Regions from separate parts of the Homo sapiens genome. Here region 2 is linked to region 1. The links are contacts of gene promoters, found by promoter capture Hi-C in blood cells and fetal thymus (Javierre and others, 2016). All regions are on one chromosome and are shown on one strand. The core of a region is centred on a gene start or on the middle of the fragment in contact, and the rest is flanking DNA. Distances in the headings are between cores, read along the strand shown.

The links. The method cuts DNA at HindIII sites, captures the fragments that hold promoters and counts their contacts. A CHiCAGO score of 5 or more calls a contact.
Region 2: a contact is called between a fragment that was not itself captured here and the fragment with the promoter of ADCY1 in region 1, in 1 of 17 cell types (M1 macrophages). The highest score is 7.7, in M1 macrophages.

The regions. Positions count from the first base shown.
Region 1 is chr7:45,571,639-45,576,248 of GRCh38, reverse strand. It overlaps ADCY1 (adenylate cyclase 1), which reads right to left and starts at 1,881. Exons shown (of 20, transcript NM_021116.4): 1 at 1,067-1,881. The coding sequence starts at 1,705. RefSeq lists a silencer at 1,396-1,495 and an enhancer at 2,307-2,867. The HindIII fragment of the contact is 15,544 bases long and covers 1-4,610 here.
Region 2 is chr7:45,293,266-45,297,875 of GRCh38, reverse strand. No RefSeq gene overlaps it. Among named protein-coding and RNA genes, the nearest start is that of RAMP3, 140 kb to the right of the region's middle. The HindIII fragment of the contact is 191 bases long and covers 2,383-2,573 here.

The DNA of each region.
Region 1 (4,610 bases), core at 632-3,131:
CCCCAGTTATTCTTCCCTAATCTCTCTGGATTCAGCTTCCCCTCCGACCCCTTACCTCTCCCCAGTTTGCTCCCACCACTGCTTCCTTTCGTGAGATGGGCTCCCCCACTCCATTTGAGTCATACCATCCCCCTGCTAAACTGCAGCTAGAGGCAGAAACAAAACCCTCCTCAGGGTCTTCCAAATCTCCCCACCCCCCAACTCCCCAGCCCCATCCCTGCGGCCCGTTGGAGATGGGCACAAGGGGAAGCTCTCAAAGCCCCGCCGTGGGGCAAAGACCTCTGGTCCACGTCCACCTCCGGGCAGTTGGAAGAGCAGGCTCCTCCAGGGCCCAGGAAGAGTCCGCGGGAGGCAGACAGCGTCCCCGTCCTTGCAACCATCTCGCCCGCCCGACTGGGAAGACAGTGACAAAGTTCGGGCGCAGAAAAGGCAGGGTCAGGGCAACCGCCGAGTGGCAGCGGCAGGGACTAGACTGTGTTTGACCTTGGCAAACCCCACTCTTTCTGGGCCGGAGGCATGTCCACAGAAGGGTGGCCAGCAAGGCTGGAAGAGCCGAAGTCCTTTCCCACCACCCATATACCACCCTCGGGTCCGCAGGGTTGGGAGGCGAGCCCAGCACGCGCTCTAGGTGCGCAGGGGAAGAGCCCAGCGCTGCGCGCAGAGCCGGCCTTGGAGCTTGCCCTGGGGGTCTGCTCTCCTCGCCCACTTTCAGTCCCTCTGTGGGGATGGGTGCGGCAAAAGACCGGCGGACCCCTCTGGCCGCCGTCTGGCCGCTCATCAGCTCCCTGACCTTGGCCAAACCTTTCTCTCTCCACACCTGTCTCCCCTCTCCACACTTCACGCCAGGGGCGCTTCGTGGATTGTAACTCTGAAGAGAGCCCTGGCCGGAGGGTGCCAGCCCCGACTGCGTCCCCAACTCGTAGGAGTGACCTTGAACACACCCCCACTCGGAGCCTCAGTGTCCCCACCCGCCGCATAGGAAAAAGCGCGCCCGACTCCGGGCATTCCCAGCATCGTCCCAGCAAGTGTGTCCGAGACCAGATGAGGGGTGCGCGGCTGCACTTACCGTCCTCCAGAGACGTGGGCGCTTGGCGGGGACCAAGGTGGCTGTGACCAGCAAGTGCGACGCAGCCACCACGAGCCCAAAGCCTATGGCCAGCAGGCTGCGCACGGGCAGCAAGGCATAGGACACGAAGGTGACCAAAAGGAGCTGCCAAACCCCTTGTTCGGCGGTCGCTGGCCCCCCAGCGGCCCCGGCGGAACCCCGGGCGGGGCCGCCCAGCGCGAAAGGACAGCAGAGCAGCGCGAAGGTGAGGCTGAAGAGCAGCGCCAGCTGGCCGACCTGCTGCAGCTGGGGCACCTGCAGGGACCGGACGTTGGTTACCACGAGCAGCGCCAGGAAGAGGACGCAGTGCACCGGGTGTGAGCCCTTGGCCAGGCCGGGCGCGGGCCCCGGCGCGCCCAGCAGCTCGGCCAGCGCCAGCGCGCCCGCCAGCAGGCTGAGAACGGCCAGCGCCTTCAGCGTGGCCGCCTGCTCCAGCCGCAGCGTGTAGCCGCGGAACAGCGCCTCCAGCTCTGGGCAAGCGAACTCCTCGTCGCACGCCCGGAGCCCGCGCCGGCGGCTTGTCCCGGCCGCCCGCTCGGCGCCCCCGGGCTCGCCCGCGCCGCCTCCGCCGCCGCCTCCGCCGCGCGGCGCCCCCGCCATCTCAGCGCCATGCAGCGGCCGCGGCCGCGGGCGCGCCCCTCGCCGGCCCGGGGCGCCGGGGCGCGGGCGGCGGCGCCGGGGCGGGCGGGCGGCGGGCGGCGAGGCGCCGGGGCGCGGGGCGCGGGGCGGGCGGAGTTGGGGCGCCGGCTGCCCCGCGCGCGCGCCCGGAGCGCGTCCCCTCCCGCCCGCCGCGCCTGCGCACTGGAGCCCGCCCGCGCCCCGACCGTGGTCCTCGGCGGCGACCGCGCTGCGACAGCCGAGCCCCGGGAGCCGCGAACCTGGGCGCGCACAGCCCGCGCCCCAACTCCGCGTCCTGCGTTCCCGCCCGCCGGAGGAGCCGCGTGACCTCGAGTACCTTCCTTGTCCCCTCCGAGCCTCAGTTTCCCCACCGTGCACAGTGGAACCCACCCTCTTGGCGTCACCTGGGGAGTCGAAAATACTGAAATCCTGCGAAATTCCCTGTTGCGGGGCAGTTAATCTTGGAAAATATGTGCCTTCCCCCACTCAATAAAACCAGGCCACTAGATTTGAGAGGGGCCCGCGTCTGACTGCGAACCCAGGGCCCTCGCCCCTACGAGACGGAGAATCGACGTCCAAGAATCCCCGGGGTCAGGAGGAAGGTGGAGGCCTGGGGCGTACGTCCCTTCCATGCGCATGAGGGACCCCCCGCCCCTCGGCAATTCTTCCCTAAGCTCTAGGGTCGCGGAGACCCTGTGGGCGGGTGCGGGCTGCGGGAGCTGTGCTGGGGAGGCGGCGGTGGTGAAGTCCAAGAAACAAAGTCCTGGGAGTCGGCCCGAGGGATTCCTCCTGGGTACTGAACTGAACCAGGATGGGCTCCTGGCAGTGCTGTGTCCCGGGAAGAAGGTGTGAGGCTGTAGGTGCAGAAATGGGGCAAGAGATGAAAGGAAAAGGGGCGCTGCTGTTTGCCTTAACGATTAGCTGGATACCCGAGAGAGAGCGAAACGTTTTCTTCTAGCAGGACAATTGGGAGGGAAGGACGCTGGCCCATGGGGGTTAAAACCCGCGAGTCGAATTCCACTGCTTACATTCATTCACTATGAGGGAGACAACTTTGTGCTGGTGCTTCAAGTACATGATGTCATTTGGTGCTCAGACGGCCCCTGGGCTGCCTGCATCCCCCTTACAGTGAGGATCTCTCATGATCAGCTCCCTCCAGGAGGCCTAGAGAGGAGTAGCCACTGCAAGAACCCCTGCCTCCTCCGTTATCCCGGCTGCTTCTCGTCCCCTCAATATGGATAGACCAGGAACTGGGATCCCATGAAATAATGGAGACCAGGAGGCTAGGCCCCCTGCAGAAGGCCCCACTCCCAGAAACCAGGATTTAAGGGATCTCGCCCAGGCATTGGTCTATTTTAGAAATGCCCCAGGGATTCCATTAACTCTCAGGGATTCCACGTGTTGTTATACGGAACAAAGGTTAGAATTTGAGGCATTTCCATTTTATCTGGAATTGGTATCAGGTTGAACCATACAAAATTGCCGTTTTTGTAAAAGGGCCAAAGTTGTCACATGTCAGCTCTTTCATATGCTTCAACTTAATAGTTGCAGATGATGACACCTCTAGGCTTTGTCTAGAGTAGGGGCACTTTCCCATCCCATGTCCCCAGTAGCTCACACCAAAGGCCCCCAGCAGACACTTGATGACAGCTGGTCCCTCCTCCTGGAATAGCATCCCCAACAGAACATCCTTTCTGAAACCTTTCTGGCTCCTTCTGGCACAGCTCGTTGCTTTCTCCCCAGTCCCAGTCTTCCGTGAAAATTCATACCCACCACTCTGTAGCCTCATTTTCTGTTCATTTGCCTTCCTCCCCTCTTTGAGCTGAAGCCCTCAGAGGGCAGCACTGGCTCTGAAAAGATGGCATGGCCCAACCTCTGTCACTGACTTGAGAAAGCACCTTCTTCTATCCACTAGTCCCCTGCTTATCCCCAAATAGGAGCAAAGTCTGCAAGATTTTTCTTTTCAAGTGTTAAGATTGAAGTGAAGATTTTCTTGTTAACTGGTGTGGTATATTTTTGGATCCTAACAATTTATTAAAGAAAAGCTGAATAATATCCAAAAAGGATCAAACTACATGAAAATGAAAAAGTATGATAAAGTTAATCTGGGTGCAAAGTTTACAAATAAATGGCACCTTCTTTTACCTGTTTTGGCTCTCAACTTTGTCCTCACTCAAAAAATGACATTCAGACAGGTGCAGTGGCTCATGCCTGTAATCTCCGCACTTTGGGAGGCCAAGGCAGGGGGATCACTTGAGTCCAGGAACATGAGAGCAGCCTGAGCAACATAAGGAAGCCTCATCTCAACAAAAATTTAAAAATTAGCTGAAAGTGATGGTACATATCTTTAGTCCCAGCGGCAAATGAGTTTTAAGGGAGGCTAAAGTGGGAGGATTACTTGAGCCCAGGAGTTTGAGGCTGCAGTGAACCATGATCTTACACTCCAGCCTGGGTGACTTCTCTTTTAATAAGAGTCTGTCTCTTTAAGAAAAAAAAGAAAATCATTGGCAAGATTGGCAGCAACTGCTTTCAAACGAGGTTATAAGGATTCAGATTAGGCTTTGGACGGAAAGAGGTTCAGTCATAGGTGCAGTACCCTTTGCTTACTGTCACACATGCTTGTCCTAATATGAAGTCCTAATAAAGTATCCAGGGATACATGGTGTGGTGTGGTTTACATGTCATTCTCATGTCTGTAGTTCTCATTGATGCTCCATGGCATCTTGGAAGGCAGATTTTATCACCCTCATTTTGTTGATGAAGAAGCAGAGACCTAGACATGCTCTGGAGCTGGCCCCAAGGCACAGAGAGGACCAGATTCTGGTGGGAATCTGGGGGTCCTCCAACTCGTGTTGTTAAACCCTGGGAGGGGTAAGAATTGAAAATT
Region 2 (4,610 bases), core at 1,229-3,728, 280 kb after region 1:
TCTAGAAAAAATTAATGTCAAAAGAAGGCAATGATAGATGAATTAAGGAACAACCAATATTTAAGACAGGCTAAAGCCTACAACCACAATTCTTTCAGGATAAGGTCTATGTTGCTCCCTCTGGCCTTGTTAACCTGCACCAGGAATGTGGGCTGCTATCCTCATAACCTCTGCCAGTCTGGGACGTGGAGGACGATAGGCATGCAATTTGAAGTGCAGCTGGCTGCTTTTTTTTTTTGACAAAGTCTCACTCTGTCATCCAGGCTAGAGTGCAGTGACTCACTTATAGCTCACTATACCTTAAACTCCTGGGCTCAAGTGATCCTCCTGCCTCAGCCTCCTGAGTAGCTAGGGCTACAGGTGCATGCCACCACACACAGCTAATTTTAAAAAAAAAATTTGTAGAGCCGAGGTCTCCCTTTGTTGCCTAGGCTAATCTTACACTCCTGGCTTCAAGCAGTCCTCCCACTTCTGCCTCCCAAAGTGCTGGGACTACAGGTGTGAGCTGCCACACCCAGACACTGCTTCTTTCTTTACCAAGCCTTCCAAATTTTTTCACTAGATTCCAGAGTTCTGCCAACACTGTTTCTGACATTCTGACTAGCTCATTAGTTGATTTTCTGGAGGGACAGAGCCCTGAAGTCCCCAACTTTGCCATTTTTCTGTGATATCCTCTGCTCTCTTTTTTGTATTGCTTTTTCTCTCTGGCCCATGCAGTCCTGGAGCTGGCTGCTTCTTCCAGCAGAGTAATGAGATGTGGAGGTCCAAGTCTCCAGTGTGAGCTTAAAGGAGAGGGGTGGAGATTGTCCTGGGTCATAGTCCCAGGCTACATCCAACCTGGAGAATAGGAGACCAACTCACTATAAAACTACATTAGTTTAGGACAAAACCCCAGGAAGCAATAAAGAGATTCTTCTTCTGTTTTTGCTGACTGTGCATATCTCCCCTGGCAACCTCCTGGGAGGTGGAAGTTGGCTGAAGACAAAGCTTGGGTGAATCTACTCCCAGCTACCATCTTAATACCTTGGGAATATAAAAATGACCCTTTCCCTGGCACAGGACTCTACAGTTGTCCTGATCAGTGTCCCTGATCTTCTTTTACTTTCACAATGGTACTGGGATGTCACACAGTACAGAGGAGAAAACTCAAGCTCAGGGAGCACCAGAAACTTTCTCAAGGCTCTGACAGGTGAATTATAGGGCCAGGGCACTACCTCAGGCAGCACTCAGCTCCTCCCATTGTCCTTGAGCCCCATTGCACGCTCCCATAAAACCCCAGCTTTCTCTCTAGAAACCCTGGAAGACTCTCCTAAAGAGTGGACACCCCATCCTCTGCCTGCTCCCACCAGCAATGTGTTCTCATCAACAGAACAGCTAATAGACCAACCAATTGGAAGCTTAAACCCCTTTCAGGGATGTTTCCTCCTAGGCAGGCATTGAGGAGACAAGGAGAAGAAAGAGGTTGATGGGTTGATGTGTCCAGAAGCTTTGGGTTTTCTTTTCTTTTCTTTTTGAGATGGAGTCTCGCTCTGTTGCCAGGCTGGAGTTCAGTGGCGCAATCCCGGTTCAATGCAACCTCTGCCTCCCGGGTTCAAGCGATTCTCCTGCCTCAGCCTCCTGAGTAGCTGGGACTACAGGTGCACACCACCATGCCCAGCTAATTTTTGTAGTATTAGTAGAGACTAGGTTTCACCTTGTTGGCCAGGATGGTCTTGATCTCTTGACCTTGTGATCCGCATACCTTGGCCTCCCAAAGTGCTGGGATGGGTTTTCTTTTTTGTCTGTCTCATCAGTCCTCGCTCCTCCTGATTTACATCTCCCAGACACAGTGCTGCCCAGAATGATGCACAACACCCCCATGGAGTCTGCCTTGTATAAGACACAGGCTTCTCTTAAAGCTGCATCCCACTGGCCTAACACTTTTCTCTAACAGCAAGTCTTTTCACACTTTCTGAAGCCAAATGGTCCCAATCAAAGTCCTCAAAGTTTTCCCTCACAGATTTTATCCTGAGATATTTGTCCAGGTTGGCAAGATAATTTTAGATTTTGACTCTAAATAAATGGTCTTTCACCATGTTATCTGCAGATTTCATGAATCCCCTTGCTATGATAAACACGCTAATCAAGACGCGGGCTGGGACAGAGCCTGGTGGCCATCAGAGACTTCCCTCTAGGCCAACAGATTCACTAGTTAGTGCCCAGTGGAGATGCACACCGGACATTCTAGAGACCTGAGATGCGTGGGGACCAGAGCAAAGCTGCACTGGGACTACAGCAAAGCTGCTTTGATCCCACATTTTTGGTCTTCCTATCTTTCAGGAAAGACCAGAACAGCCTGCTTTAAAAACATTAATGAGGTAAAGGGATTATTAATTCAAAGCTTATTAAAGCCATATGTAGCTGCATGCATTCTAAGTCAAAATAAACTGCAATGTCCTGCTGATTTCTCTTGCGTCATGTCACCGGCTTATAGCAAGGGGAAGCCATGTGGAGCTGTGCTAATTACCAGGACCATATGCTGCGGGAAAATCAGGAGGTGTTATTAAAATGCCTCTTGGACTACTGCTCAAGCTTATGAGATTCTCTTCTTCCAGGACTGCAACTTGGTATTTGTTGATATTTGAGTAATGAGGCTGTCCGCACATATTTTTAGGTTTCCCTTTCACCGGGCAGTCTCCAAATACATTCCGTGGGCTGAGCTCTGTGCTATGTCTGAGCAGGGATCCCACCATCAACCACATGCAGCTTCAGCTCCTGAAGCTTTTCCTGCAATGTGAGTTCCCCAAACGGTTAACAAATATCAAACACACTTGCTTAGTATACGCTGGTTTAACAAATATCTATGGTGCATCCACTAGGTACAAAGCACTGTCCCAGGTGCAACAACCTTGGAAATAAGGTAAGTGACCACCATGCTTCTGGGAACCCCTCAGTTTGTAAGTCTTCCTTACCTTCCATGTTCTTTGCCTGCACTCTGCACTGTTTCCACAAGAACATTGTTTCAGGATTAACAAAGGATTCACCTAAGACACTCCTATGGAGTTTCCTCAGGAAACTTGGAATGACATGTAAAGCCACTGCAACAACACTGAACGCACTGGCCTTGCTGCCAGGAACACTGTCACCATCGCTGGGGACACAGCCAGGCCACATGCCAGGGACTATCACAGACACCATTAAATGTCACCATGCCCTGTGAAATGTTACAAGGGTCTCTATTTAACTGAGACTCAGAGAAGTTAAATAGCCGGGCTCCGGGTCACCCATGTTGGGAGGGTCAGAGGGGGCATACCAAAGAGCCCATCTACACACACTTTCCCCTGTACTGCCAACGTTTTTCATAAGCTCAATTCATAAAGACCTTTGACTTCCCAACTTGAGGCACATCGTGTAAAAGCACACATGATACCACCCAGCTCCAGGCTCACACACACATGTGCAAGGGGGAATGTGGCCTCTCTAAATGCCAGGAGCCTTTGATCTGAGGGTATCTCCCTCCCATGCCCTGCACAGTGCTCCCCCAGCTTGCAGCTTAACTGGGCTTCCCCATCAGCCCCTTCACACCCCCATGAGCCATGGGCTAGGAGGCTGCAGGTGCCACCTGCCCCCGCTACTGGCACCACAGCGCTAGCAGTCCGCCTTGCTCTCCTTGCAGTGCCTGCCCTCTGCTTCCCACTCCCTGATCTACTGTGGCTAGTCCCATCCTCCACCAGGCACTGATTCCCTGGACCCCCAACTCACATGGCCTCTCCCGCCCTACGGCTCCACACTTGGCTTCTCATGGTTTCCTACCACAGCAAGTAGGAGGGTTAGTTTTATGTCAACTTGGCTGAGCCACAGTACCCAAATATTTGGTCAAAAGCCAGTCTAGATGTTGTGTGGCTGTTTTTTAAATGAGATTAACATTGAAATCAGCAGACTTTGAGTAAAGCAGTCCACCCTCCATAATGTGGTGGGCTTCATCCAATCAGTTGAGGCCTTAGAGAAAAGACTGAGGTCCCCCAGGAAGAGGAAACTCTTCCTCCAGGCTGCGTTTGGCCTCAAAAGTCAAAATTGCAATATCAACCCCTCTCTGGGTCTCCAGACTGCCAGTCTGCCCTGCAGATTTCACACTCGCCAGCCTCCGCAATCACATGAGCCAATTCCTTAAAATAAATCTACACACACAGACACTCTTCCCATAGGCTCTGTTTCTCTCAGAAACCCTGAATAGTACAGCAAGAAAATGCTTATCAGACTGTTTGAACCTGAGTTCTTCACCAGACTGTATGACGCTTGAGGGCAAGGACATCATCTTATTCACTTCTGAAACCCTAAGCCTTAGCAAGTGGACAGACAATAAACAGGTGTCGAGTGAATAGAAAGTAGATGAGTTCAGACTCAGTGTGCTAAGACATGGCCTTTCCTGGGCCATTGCCAAGGCTAATAAAAGACCCTGAGCTGGAATATTTAATCTCCAGACTTAGCCCTGAGTATGCAAGAATGGATTTTTCCAGCACAAAGGCCTAACACTGACCAGTACCTCCATAACCCCTACAGCCCTGGGCTATGGGGATCCTGACCCTCCCTGCTATTCCCCACCCTCCACTGGGGCCAGCTTCCCCTCTTTG